Linked DNA regions of Homo sapiens: region 1 is linked to region 2. Evidence: promoter capture Hi-C in 16 types of primary human blood cells and fetal thymus (Javierre and others, 2016). All regions are on one chromosome and are shown on one strand. The core of a region is centred on a gene start or on the middle of the fragment in contact, and the rest is flanking DNA. Distances in the headings are between cores, read along the strand shown.

Region 1 (6,327 bases), core at 3,828-6,327, 170 kb before region 2:
CGGTCTTTTGGCTTCCCTGGGCCACATTGGAAGAAGTAGAATAGTCTTGGGCCACAAATAAAATACACGAACCCTAACAATAACTGATGAGCTAAAAACCTTTCAAAAAAATCTCATAATGTTTTAAGAAAGTTTACAAATATGTGTTGGGCTGCATTCAAAGCTGTCCTGGGCTGCATGTGGTCCATAGGTGGTGGGTTGGACAAGCTTACTTTTTTTTTTAGTTTTTTTGAGACAGAGTCTTGCTCTGTTGCCCAGGCTGGAGTGCAGTGGCATGATCTCAGTTCACCACAACCTCTGCCTCCTGGGTTCAAGCGATTCTTCTGCCTCAGCCTCTCAAGTAGCTGTGATTACAAGCATGAGCCACCATGCCTGGCTAATTTCTGTATTTTTAGTAGAGACAGGGTTTCACCATGTTGGCCAGGCTGGTCTCGACCTCCTGACCTCAAGTGATCCATCTGCCTTGGCCTCCCAAAGTGCTGGGATTACAGGTGTGAGCCACCACACCCAGCTGGACAAGCTTGCTTTAAACTCAACCACTAACCTAAGTGTGTTCTTTGTACTGCCCAGAGGTCCTATTGCATCTCCTGGGCCATTTGCTTCTTTGCTTTCCTGGAGGAGAGTTTCATCCAGTGTCTTCCTCCATCCCCACTCTCAGCCGAGGACCATGGTTCCCATTTTACTGTGAAAATAGAAGCCTTCAAAAGAGAATTTCCGCAAGTTTTAAGCTGCCACGCCTAGGCTCCTACCAGGATCTGAGCTCCATATTCTGCTGTCCTCATTTCTGTGGGTGAACCATCTGTGCTCCTATCCAAGGCCACCCTCTCCACTTGTGCACAAGATTCCACCCCTCTTGCTTACGTAAGGGCACCATATCAACTCTTCTTCCCTTTCTCCTGCATTATCAATCTCCACAGTTCTGGCGGGTCAAGCTGATTAGCATATACATGTGCTATAATTTCTCCCAAGAAAAAATAATCCTCCCTTAACCCCCAGTCTCCCTCCAGCAGTGGCCTCATTTTCCTTCTCCTCTTTATGTAAATCTCTTTTAAAAAGAACTATCTAGTCTTATGTTTTCCCGATTCCTCTCCTCCCATTCTCTTGTAAATCCTCTAGAATGAGGTTTTACCGCTGTCATTCCACCGCAACTTTTCTTGTCAAGGTCAAAAGCAACCTCCACAATGCTGAACCCAATGGTCGATTTTCAGTCCCCATTGTCGTTGACCCATGGGTCCTATTTGACATAGCCGTTTGCTCTCCTGGGAACACTCTCTTCACTTGGCCTTCCAGACACTTACTACCCTCACCACCACTCCTTTGGGTCTCTTCTGGCTCCTCCTCATCTCCCATCTTTAATGTTGTTATTATTTTATTATATTCATGTTTTTAAAATAGAGATGAGGTCTCACTTTGTTGGCCAGGCTGGCCTCCAACTTTGACCTCAAGCGATACTCTTACCTGGGGCTCCCAAACTGCTGGGATTACAGGCATGAGCCACGGTGCCTGGCCTCATCTCCCATCTTTAAATGGAAGGCCTCAGGGCTCAGTGCTTAGAAATCTCTCTACCCTCACTCCCTTGCTAATGTCCAATCTCATGACTTTAAATAGTATCCATACCCTGACAATTGTCAAATTTATGTATCCCTAGCCCAGATATCTCTTCTGAACTATATATATTCTCATATATCCAATTGTTTTTGCACAGTCTCCATATGTGTGCCTAATAGGAATCTCCAGTGTAATATGTCTTAATCTGAACTCCTTGTTCCCCAAACCTATTCCATCCACATTCTTCCCATCTCAGTGTTGTGCTGAACCCCTGTCCACTCCAATAAGGAAGGCCCCAGGTTCAAGAGGCCAAAGAAGAGACCCAGAGCCAGCAAACAAGACAAGGTTTTTTTTTTTTTGAGAGGGAGTCTCACTCTGTTGCCCAGGCTGGAGTGCAGTGGTGCGATCTCGGTTCACTGCAACCTCCACCTCCTGTGTTCAAGTGATTCTCCTGCCTCAGCCTCCTGAGGATTACAGACATGCACCACCATGCCCAGCTAATTTTGTATTTTTAGTAGAGACAGGGTTTCACTATGTTGGCCAGGCTGGTCTCGAACTCCTGACCTCAAGCAATCTGCCCTCCTCAGCCTCCCGAAGTGCTGGGATCACAGGCGTGAGCCACTGGGCCCGGCCGACGTGGGGTCTATTGAGGAGAACTTACATACAAGATGGTCCAGTGGTGGCGAGCTGGACAGTAGAACCACTGTCACCTGCAGAAAGCACGCATTTTCACTCAACACCTGCTCCCTAACAACCTCTACCTGGCAACCTTCATTTAACCCAAAACAAAGCGCCTTGATCCCCTGTATGGCCCTTGTTCCACAGGATGGGAAGGGGGCTCAGAGGTTCCTCATAGATGAGGATCTCTAGGTTGCCCACTCCAGGATTTCTTAGCTCAGAACTCCAAACACACATCAAGTATATCTGCCATTCAGGGTCATTCTCAGGGTGTGCTTCAGTTATTGCTGTCAGGTGCATCTGCCATACATTCAGTAAATGGCAACTTTGTCCTTCCAGTTTCAGGTCATAACTCTTGGCGTTAGCCTTGGTGCATCTCTTTCTCTTGCACCCCATGTCAGATCCATCAGCAAACCCTGCCTCCCAAGCTCCTTCACAAAGCCTTCCCTAGCATCTCCAGAGGGAAGTGCTTAGGGAGGCCAATCCTCCTCTCCTAGCGCCAGTGTCATCTCCTGTCTTAGGATCCACAGGAAGAAGTCTCTGTCAACTGGAAGTAACCTGCTGGCCTGTGACATGTAATCAATTTTACTTTGCTGCTGCAATCCTCAGTGCCTGGCAGGTAGTGGATATACAATAAACACTTACTGAATTAAAGAAATTTTGAAAAATAATTGTTCTTTGTGAAAAAGGGCCCTCATGGGATAATACTCAGCGATAAAAAGGAACGAGTGGTTGCTAAATGCAACGCTGTGGATGGATCTCAGGTGCCTTATGCTGAGTGAAAAAAATGACAAAATTATAGAGATGGAGAACAGATTAGTGGTTGCTCAGGGCTAGGGAGGATTTGGGGAGGGATGTGTGACTATGAAGGAGTAGCTCAGGAATATCTTGATGGTGATGGATAGTTCTATGTCTTGATTATAATGGTGGTTATGACTCTAACCATGATAAAGTTAGGGTTGCCAAATGAAATACAGAATGCCCAGTTTAATTTGAATTTAAGATAAACAAGGGCTGGGCGTGGGTGGCTTACACCTCTAATCCCAGCACTTTGGGAGGCCAAGGCAGGCGGATCACTTGAGGTCAGGAGTTCGAGACCAGCCTTACCAACATGGTGAAGCCCCATCTCTACTAAAAATACAAAAATTAGCCAGGCATGGTAGCGGGCACCTGTAATCCCAGCTACTAGGGAGGCTGAGGCAGGAGAATCGCATGAACTTGGGAGGTGGAGGTTGAAGTGAGCTGAGATCGTACCACTACACTCTAGCCTGGGCAACAGAGCAAGACTCCATCTCAAAAAAAAAGAAAAAAAAAGATAAGGAATAATCTTTTCAGTATAAGTATGTCCCAAATATTGCATGGGATATGCTTATACTAAAAACAAAATTTAACTGAGTTTCCTGTATTTTCATTTGCTAAATCTGGCAAACCTAGAAAAAAATAGCATCAAACCCTACGCACACACATTTTACCTGTGTCACTTTCCTGAGTGTAATACTGTGCTGTGCTTATCTAAGATGTAACCATCTGGGGAAACTGAGTGGAGGGCACACAGACCTCCATGTACAATTTCTGCAACCTCTTGGGAAGGTAAAATTATTTCCAAATAAAAAGGTTTTCAGAATGGCCCTCAAAGGAAAACCAACTGCTCCTGTTAGTGATGAAAACAAAGAGGTATAGGAAAGTGCTGGTTACTAACCTTGCAAGTTTTATGGAACACTGTAAAACTGGCACTTCACAAAGGTCTTAAGATGTATCCCCCTTGAATGTCAATGCTCTTGTATAGTTAGTGACAGTATAACAAAGTGGTTATGAGCGTGGGCTCAGGATCCACACACCGGGCTCACATCCTGGCTCCTGCATTTATTAGCTGTGGGTCGTATTTGCCGTGTTGTGCCAGAGCCAGCCCCCCTCCCCTCCCCTCCCACCCCCGTCTCTTTCCTGTTCCACATTCAGAGACATCAGACAGGAAGCTTGAGACAGGCCTGCAAGTATTTACACCACTGAGACTGGCAAACACTACAAATCAGGGCATTTTTTTTTTCTTCCAGAGAGCTAATTGGTTTTTTGTTTTGTTTTGTTTTATTTTTTGAGACAGAGTTTTGCTCTGTTGCCCAGGCTGGAGTACAGTGGCGTGATCTTGGCTCACTGCAACTTCAGCCTCCTGGATTCAAGTGATTCTCGTGCTTCAGCCTTCCAAGTAGCCTCCATATGATCAAGAATGTGGGTGGAATAGGTTTGGGGAACAAGGAGTTCAGATTAAGACATTACACTGGAGATTCCTATTAGGCCCACACGGACACTGTGCAAAAACAATTGGATATGTGAGATTATATATAGTTCAGAAGAGATATCTGGGCTGGGGGTATGTAAATTTGACAATTATCGGGGTACAGATGCTATTTAAAGTCATGAGATTGGAGATTAGCAAGGGTTACAGGCATGTGCCACCATGCCTGGCTAATTTTTGTATTTTTAGTAGAGACAAGGTTTTGCCATGTTGGCCAGGCTGTTCTTAAACTCCTGACCTCAAGTGATTCACCCGCCTCGGCCTCCCAAAGTGCTGGGATTACAGGCATGAGCCACTGTGCCTGGATGCTTTTCTTTTTTTTTTAATTTTTAATTTTAGATGGAGTTTCAGTATGTTGCCCGCACTGGCGGCAAACACCTGGGCTCAAGCAGTCCTCCCATCTTGGCCTCCCAAAGTGTTAGGATTACAGTTGTGAGCCATCACACCTGGCCCAGAGAGCTAGCTGTTAAACATCTACCATCACACCACAGACTTAGAGCCTTAGCTTCCTCATCTGTAAACCGGTGGAAGATAGTCATAACCTCATAATGTTATGAGGAGTAAATGGGATAATGCACGTAGGGTGCTCATCACTGAGTTCTTCAAATAGTTAAGTGGGCAGTACTTGTGAGCTAGTATTATCTCTCATTTTGAACCGTGAGCAACTTAAGGGCAGGTCGCTGCGCTAATCATCTTGATATCTTTAGTGCCTGGCCTGACATGTAGTAGGTTCTCAATGAATGTTTACTAAATTAGTGAATAAATGGCAAATAATAGTAACTTGGGGCCGGGCGCGTTGGCTCACGCCTGTAATCCCAGCACTCTGGGAGGCCAAGGCGGGTGGATCACCTGAGGTCAGGGGTTCGAGGCCAGTCTGGCCAACATGGTGAAACCCTGTCTCTACTAAAAATACAAAAATGAGCTGGGTGTGGTGGTACATGCCTGTAATCCTAGCTACTTGGGAGGATGAGGCAGGAGAATCGCTTGAACCCAGGAGATGGAGGTTGCAGTGAGCCGAGATTGCACCACTGCACTCCAGCCTGGGCGACAGAGCAAGACTCCATCTCAAAAAAAAAAAAAGTAACTAGGGTAATATGTCTCTAGAAAACCTGGACTTTTTCAGAAGACTTTTAGGACATACTTCTTAATCTTTAAACATGAGGGTTTTCAGGCCCTGTGGCAGGATGCCAGGGGGGTCTGGGGTGCACTCCTACCACCCAAGGGTAATGTCTGCCCTTGCAGGCCCACCTCTGAGCCCCCAAGGAATGCAGCTTCTGATGCACCCCCTCCAGGTGGCAGGCACAGGCCCTCGCCTTCCTCTGGGAGCCAAGATGGGGCATTTCTGGCTCTCAACCTGACTAGAGGTCATTTAATCCTCGCTGGATTTGTCTTGTTTATTTTAGTGAACAGGGCTGTTTACTTTCAGTTCGTATTTCTAGGGAAGCTTACTCATTTTGCTTCCCGTTTATTTACTCCTTGCAAGCACTTAAGTTTGAGTAAATATGTCTATGAAGTTCCAGGGACTGGGTGATTCTGTGTCTGCTATTTTAATGGCCTTTAAACAGTGTCTGCCCAGGTAGGCATTTTATAGATGGGTTGAAAAGATAGGCAATTCTGTTCTCAGTGGCCTCTGACTCCTTTCCAAGCTGACAGCTGGCCACCAGCAGCTTATGAATCATGGCTTTTCATCAGTAATAAAAATATCAAAGGCCAACACCTATCTCAAACAGAAACCGACCCACCCTGGTCCACCAGGCATGGGGCTTGGAAACTGGCAGGTGTTTAAACTCTAAGGCAGTGTTTAGGGTGCG
Region 2 (6,321 bases), core at 2,392-4,891:
TTTCCACTAGCAGCACAGCATTCTCTCCTTCCAGGACGTCGAGCTTCCGGGGCAGGCGCTTCAGGATGGGCCCTGAGATGCGGACAGGAATCCATCAACCTGGAATCTGAGCACCTGCCTGCCTCCGCCTCAGCCTCTTCCCCACGGGCCAGCTGACCTTTGACTGTGACGTTGGCCACGGTGCGCACCCGGCCCCGCATCTCGCACAGGTAGATACCATCATCGTCTGCCTTCAGCCTGTGGATGATGAGGCGCCGGACAGTGCCCTCTTCGATCTGCTCGTACTTGCGGCAGGGCAGCAGCCGCTGGTCCTCACGGAACCAGGCCGTGGGGATGCGGGAGTTGGGTACTTTACATTCCAGCACGGCAATCCCGTGCTCACGGCCCTCCACGTCCTGCAGGGGCCGTGTGAACCGGAGGCGGGGCTCTGTGGAGAGGGGAGAGAGAGACAAGAGAGGGCTCTGGAGAAGGCCCAGACTAGGAGTAGGATACCTAGAAGCGCATTAGCTCATGCTGTGTGCTCTTCATGCAGAGCCAGCGGGCACTGTGGAATCACAGAAAACTACCAGAAGGGAAGTGGTGGTTCCTAAGATGACCTGAGTTCTCATCCAGCCCTGACACTAGCCACATCACCTTAAGCAAGTCCATTTCAATGCTTCTGGGCCTCAGTCTCCTTACTTGTAAAATGGGGAAAGGGAGAGAAGGGGTTGGACCAGATTGATGATTTCCAAACTGTTCCCTGGGGTCCTCCAGGCCCTAGATTGGTGATTTCCAAACTGTTCCCTGGCTCCCCCCGCCCCAGTCATTTCACATATTCTGCAAGGGTCTGAGTAGAATTTAAAATATTTTAACTCTTTTTTTTTTTGAGATGGAGTCTCGCTCTGTTGCCCAGGCTGGAGTGCAGTCGCGCAATCTCGGCTCACTGCAACCTCCACCTCCTGGGTTCAAGCAATTCTGGTGCCTCAGCCTCTCAAGTAGAGCTGGGATTACAGGCAGGCGCCACCACGCCTGGCTAATGATTTTGTATTTTTAGTAGAGATGGGGTTTTGCCATGTTGGCCAGGCTGTTCTCGAACTCCTGACCTCAAATGATCCGCCCACCTTAGTCTCCCAAAGTGCTGGGATTACAGGGTGAGCCACTGTGCCTAGCTATTTTAACCCTTTTCAAAAGTGTATTTCAAAAAAAAAAAAAGAAAAGAAAAGAAAACAGGATGTTGGAAATCAGAGGATTAACTAGGGCTGCTGGAGAAGCAAGTTTTTGTGTGCGTGTGTGTATGCAACTCGGGGAAGCTCCTCTAGCCTTCCCTCCGGGCTTTTCTTTCCTGATGGAGGTCCAGATCAGCACCAACCTGATGAATCTGTGAGCATTGAACTGTAACAGTGAGGCCACCACCGCAGCCTGGGGGCAACATGCTTGACTGCATGCTAGGAAGGACTCAGGAGAATTTACCAACTTTTTTTCCTCTAAGAGAAAAAACTGGACAATAACTAGTGAAGGTGTACTCTTTTGCGTTGTGATGAAATCCTATTATGGGGAGCGTTACCTTCTGGTGAGTTTGGGGTGTGCTTTTTTTTCCTTTGGAATTTTCTGTTTATGAGAATGTAACCATTTATTGGATATTGTTGGTGATTCAACTTTGAAATATAAACCTTCTCTCCTTCACCTTCCTCTTCTTGCAAACGTGGGGAGCAGTTTAATCAAAGAATAGTAAAAACACGCAGGACATTTGTCCTCCCTCAAGTCTAGCTTTCCACTGAATCACTTGTTTCTCAAGGTGACAGATGCAGCCAGGCCGTCCCCACAGGGTTCAGAGCCTGGTCTCATGAATGCAGCCTTTAATTCAAATTCCTGTATTCAATAAAATAGCCTCCTTATTCTCACTGATGGTTTAGAAGTACCTGTTATATACGTAGACTCAGCAATTTACGCCCATAAACTACTCCTTTATCTGTCTCATATATTGGGGCTCTGGTTGTGAATTCAGTGGGGGAAGGAGGAGTAAAATAACAAAGACGTTGAAAACCACTAGGGAAGAAGAGTTCTAGGGCCCTCCGGATTTGTACATCAATCACTCCTTAGTGGTGTTCCACCATCTGCCTCGGAATCATTTAAGGAGTTTGCTAAGAAGTTCCTGAGTACCCTGGAGACCTACTAAATCCGAATCCCTGGGGAGTGAGAGGCGGGCGGGTTTGGTATTTTAATATTCCCGCGGACCACCTCTCCTCCAGTCTTGGGGGCAGCGCTGGGCACCGAGGAGGGCTGGAGTTCGGAGGGCCTCGGAGGACACTCGAGGCCCCTCCCTAGGTCCCGGGCTCCGCCGTACCTTTCACGTGCAGCTGCACGGCACTGAGCGTCTGGCCCGCCGAGTTGCGCGCGGCGCAGACGTAGAGCCCACGATCCTTGGCCTGGCAGTAAAGCACCTTGAGCACGAAGCCGCCGTCGCGGTCGCGGTACATGAGGCGGCGGCGGTCCGGGAGCAGCGGGCGGCCCTCCCAGTGCCATTCGATCTCGGGCTCGGGCTTGCCCATCACGTAGCAGCGGAACTTGGCGTGCTTGCCCTCGTTCACCCAGAAGGTCTTAGGCGCGCACTTGAGCGGCTCCACCACCGGCGCGGGGGCCTCGTCGGGGTCCGCGGGCGGGCTCTCGGGGGGCTGGTGCACCTGGAGCAGCGCCCCCGCCTGCGCGTGGCCGTGCGCGTTGCGGGCGTGGCACACGTAGACGCCGGAATCCGGCAGCCGAGCCGCCAGGATGCGCAGTGCCAGGCTCGCGCCGGGGCCGTCCTCGGCGCGGCCCGGCTGGAGCGCGAAGTGGCTGCTGTCCCACACTTCGTCCAGGGCCATCCCGTCCTTCTCCCAGTACAGTGTGGGCTCGGGGAGGCCCCCCGCCCGGCACGTCAGCACCACCTCCGCCCCCCGCAGCACCCACTGGGATCGAGGCCCCGTGAGGAAGACCGGGGCGCCCTCCCCGGACCCCGGCGATGGCAGCGGGCGCTCGGCGGGCTGCAGCTCGGGGTCGGAGGCCGGCGGCTCCAGCACGGTGACGGCGGCCGCCGCGTAGGCCTCGCCGGCCGCGTTGCGGGCGCGGCACACGTAGACCCCCGCGTCGGTGGGCAGTGCGGCGGTCAGCAGCAGGCCGTGCTCCGCGCCGTCCGCCGGGAAGCTCAGGCGTTCCGAGGCCGCCAGCTGCTGCCCGCCCTTCTCCCACACCACTACAGGCGGCGGCTCCCCCAGGACCACGCACTTGAGCTCGGCCTCGGCGCCACTTACCACCCGCACAGGCCGCGGGAAGCGCAGGAAGCACGGGGGGCTCCCCTGATCCCCCGAGCTCGCCTTCATCGCGGCGGCCGACCGCCTGCAGCGGCGAACGGTGGGGGGGCAGGGGGGGGTGCGGAGGGCGAGCCGAGGCCCGGGGCGGCGGGGTCGGGGCGCGGCTGGGGACTGGGCGCGGGGACCCGCGGAGCTCTCCCGGGCCTCCCGCTCCCGGCTCGCCTCCTTACCCTCGGCCCCGAGCTGCAGCTCTGCGGCGGCGGCGGCGGCGATTCCCGGGCCCGAAGCCTGGCGCTCAGGGGGCAGTCCTTCCTGTTTGCCTCTCCAGCGAGTGGCCCCGCAGCCTCCCCTGCCCGCTGCCTGGCTTCCTGCTCTTAGGAGCCTCTCTTCCCAGCCCCCTCCCACAGCTTGGGCCTCTTCCCCCTCCTCCCTCCCACCTCCAGCCGCCAGGTCCCCAGCCGCCCGCCAGGCTTGGGCCTGAGTGGCAGAGGCGCCTGCAGCTGCCAATCCCAAAAATATTCTCTGATGACACAGCTGGAGGACAAGAGCCCAGACTGGCTCCACTGGTCTAAGTATAGAGCAGGCAGGACCACCTGCCCCCGGCCCTAGCCCCGGTTCTAGCCCCGGTTCCAGCCCTGCCCCCAAGGGCTGGCCGGCCAGCAGCTGCTTATTGAAAGGGGCCCCAGAAGGTCTGAGGGGTGATGCACTTTGTCTCCCTGACAAATAACACTTTCTGGGGCTGGCCGGCTACAGCTCCCAGGCTCCTGTCCCACCTGATGTCACCTCTGGATGTGTCTGTGTGTGTGTGTGTGAGAGAGTGTGTGTGTGTGAGAATTTGTGTGTGTGTGAGTGTGTGTGTGAGTGTGTGTGTGAGTGTGTGTGTGTGTAGGGAGAAGGTGTTGTATGTTTGCATGTGTGAGTCAGGTCGCTTGAGGCGAAATCCTTCCCAGCCCCTCCCCCACATCCCTGGCGGGAGTGGGAGATAAGGCTCATGGCCACAGACATCTGCGTCAGAGATAGGAGGTCTCAATGCCACGGGCAGGGGCAACTCGGACTGTGGGGCGTGGAAAGGACTGGGGAAGACTGGATGAGAAGGGTAGAAGAGGGTGGGTGTGGGATGGGGAGGGGAGAGTGGAAAGGCCCTGGGCAGACCCTGGCAGAAGGGGCACGGGGCAGGGTGTGAGTTCCCCACTAGCAGGGCCAGGTGAGCTATGGTGCTGCACCTACTGCTCTTCTTGCTGCTGACCCCACAGGGTGGGCACAGCTGCCAGGGGCTGGAGCTGGCCCGGGAACTTGTTCTGGCCAAGGTGAGGGCCCTGTTCTTGGATGCCTTGGGGCCCCCCGCGGTGACCAGGGAAGGTGGGGACCCTGGAGTCAGGCGGCTGCCCCGAAGACATGCCCTGGGGGGCTTCACACACAGGGGCTCTGAGCCCGAGGAAGAGGAGGATGTCTCCCAAGCCATCCTTTTCCCAGCCACAGGTAACGAGGGTGGGGGAACCGGCAGGATGACTTTGAGAAAAAGCAAGGCACAGCATGGGTTTGCAGGCCAGGCGGACCTGGGTTTGAATCCTAGTCCTGCTACTCAGTTGCTTTGCAGCAATAGGCCAGTTACTAAACTTCCTTATGCTTCTGTCTCCCCATCTGTAAAATGGGCTAATGCCCACCTCTCAGGATTAAGTGAGAGGCTGTACCTAGAGTGCATGGCAGGTGGGAGGCATTTGGGAAGTATGCGCTGGGAGACCGGGGGTCTCTAAAGATGGAGATATTTGGGCTTGAGCCCCTTCCTGCCACCTTTCCTCCTATCTCTGCCTCTGCTCGCTGCTCCAAACCCTGTTTCTTTACTCCCAGGTAGCTGACACTGAGAAGCTATCAGAGATACAGGCAAAAGATTAGTTGGGAAACTTTTCTGGAAAACTAGTCTATCTTCTCTTGAGTTCCTGTCTCAACATATATGTGCCCCCTTGTTCCACTGACTGAATGGATAAGCCCTCCTGTGGGTGGGCTTTCTTGTCATCTGGTCCACCTTTCTCTTAGAGAGGACCCCTGCCTCCCTCACTTCAGTCCGTTCGCAGCACAGTGGGGAGAAGGATGGCTTTGGGATCAGGCAAAATCCAAGCCTGGCCACTTAGTCGTTGAACGTCATTTCACCTCTCTAAGCCTCAGTTTCCTTATCTGCAAAATGGACCAATTGTGACTAGATAATGAGAGAAGCCATGTAACAGTATAGTTCCAATTGCCAGTCCATGAACGAGTGCTGCTCCAGGATGATTAGTATAGTCTATGAGTGTGTCAGTGTGAGGATGCTAACTACACATTCTTGAAAGGACTGCCCTCTGTTCTGAGTTACAGCCCTCCTCCTTCTCTTCCCCCTCTTCCTTGTTCTCCATTTTCTTCCCTTTCCCACTTGCCTTTCCCTCCTTCTTCTTTTTTTTTTTTTTTTGGTGTAAACCTGTCTTTTAAAAATGGAATTATTTTAAAGAATTTATCCTACAATATTCCTGACATGCCAAAGATATAAAGAGTAATATAGGCCGGGCGCGGTGGCTCACGTCTGTACTCCCAGCACTTTGGGAGGCCAAGGCAGGAGGATCACAAGGTCAAGAGATCGAGACTATCCTGGCTAACATGGTGAACCCCGTCTCTACTAAAAATACAAAAAATTAGCCAGGCATGGTGGCACCAGCTACTCGGGAAGCTGAGGCAGGAGAATTGCTTGAACGTGGGAGGCGGAGCGGAAGGCAGAGGTTGCAGTGAGCCGAGATGGCGCCACTGCACTCCAGCCTGGGCGACAGAGCTAGACTCCATCTCAAAAAAAAAAAAAAAATGGTAATATGGCTGGGTGTGATGGCTCACGCCTATAATCCCAGCACTTTGGAAGGTGAAGGCAGGCAGATTGCTTGAGCTCAGGAGTTTGAGATCAGCCTGGGCAACATAGCGAGACCCTGTCTCTACAAAACCCACAAAAGTTAGCTAGGTGTGGTAGCACACGCCTGTGGTCTCAGTTACTCAGGAGGCTGAGGTGGGAGGATTGCTTGAGCCCAGGAGGTAGACGCTG

What was found. The method cuts DNA at HindIII sites, captures the fragments that hold promoters and counts their contacts. A CHiCAGO score of 5 or more calls a contact.
Region 1: a fragment that was not itself captured here is called in contact with the fragment with the promoter of OBSL1 in region 2 in 4 of 17 cell types (M2 macrophages, activated CD4 T cells, M1 macrophages and 1 more); the score reaches 5.6 in M2 macrophages.

The regions. Positions count from the first base shown.
Region 1 is chr2:219,393,067-219,399,393 of GRCh38, forward strand. The region is part of intron 2 of DNPEP-AS1 (DNPEP antisense RNA 1); the gene reads left to right. It also overlaps a transcript of DNPEP not described here. Among named protein-coding and RNA genes, the nearest start is that of DNPEP-AS1, 7.7 kb to the left of the region's middle. The HindIII fragment of the contact is 1,761 bases long and covers 4,198-5,958 here.
Region 2 is chr2:219,567,898-219,574,218 of GRCh38, forward strand. It overlaps OBSL1 (obscurin like cytoskeletal adaptor 1), which reads right to left and starts at 3,642. Exons shown (of 21, transcript NM_015311.3): 1 at 2,324-3,642; 2 at 158-427; 3 at 1-72. The coding sequence starts at 3,335. It overlaps INHA (inhibin subunit alpha), which reads left to right and starts at 4,413. Exons shown (of 2, transcript NM_002191.4): 1 at 4,413-4,745. The coding sequence starts at 4,478. RefSeq lists enhancers at 1,748-2,585, 2,586-3,423, 4,110-4,404. The HindIII fragment of the contact is 22,564 bases long and covers 1-6,321 here.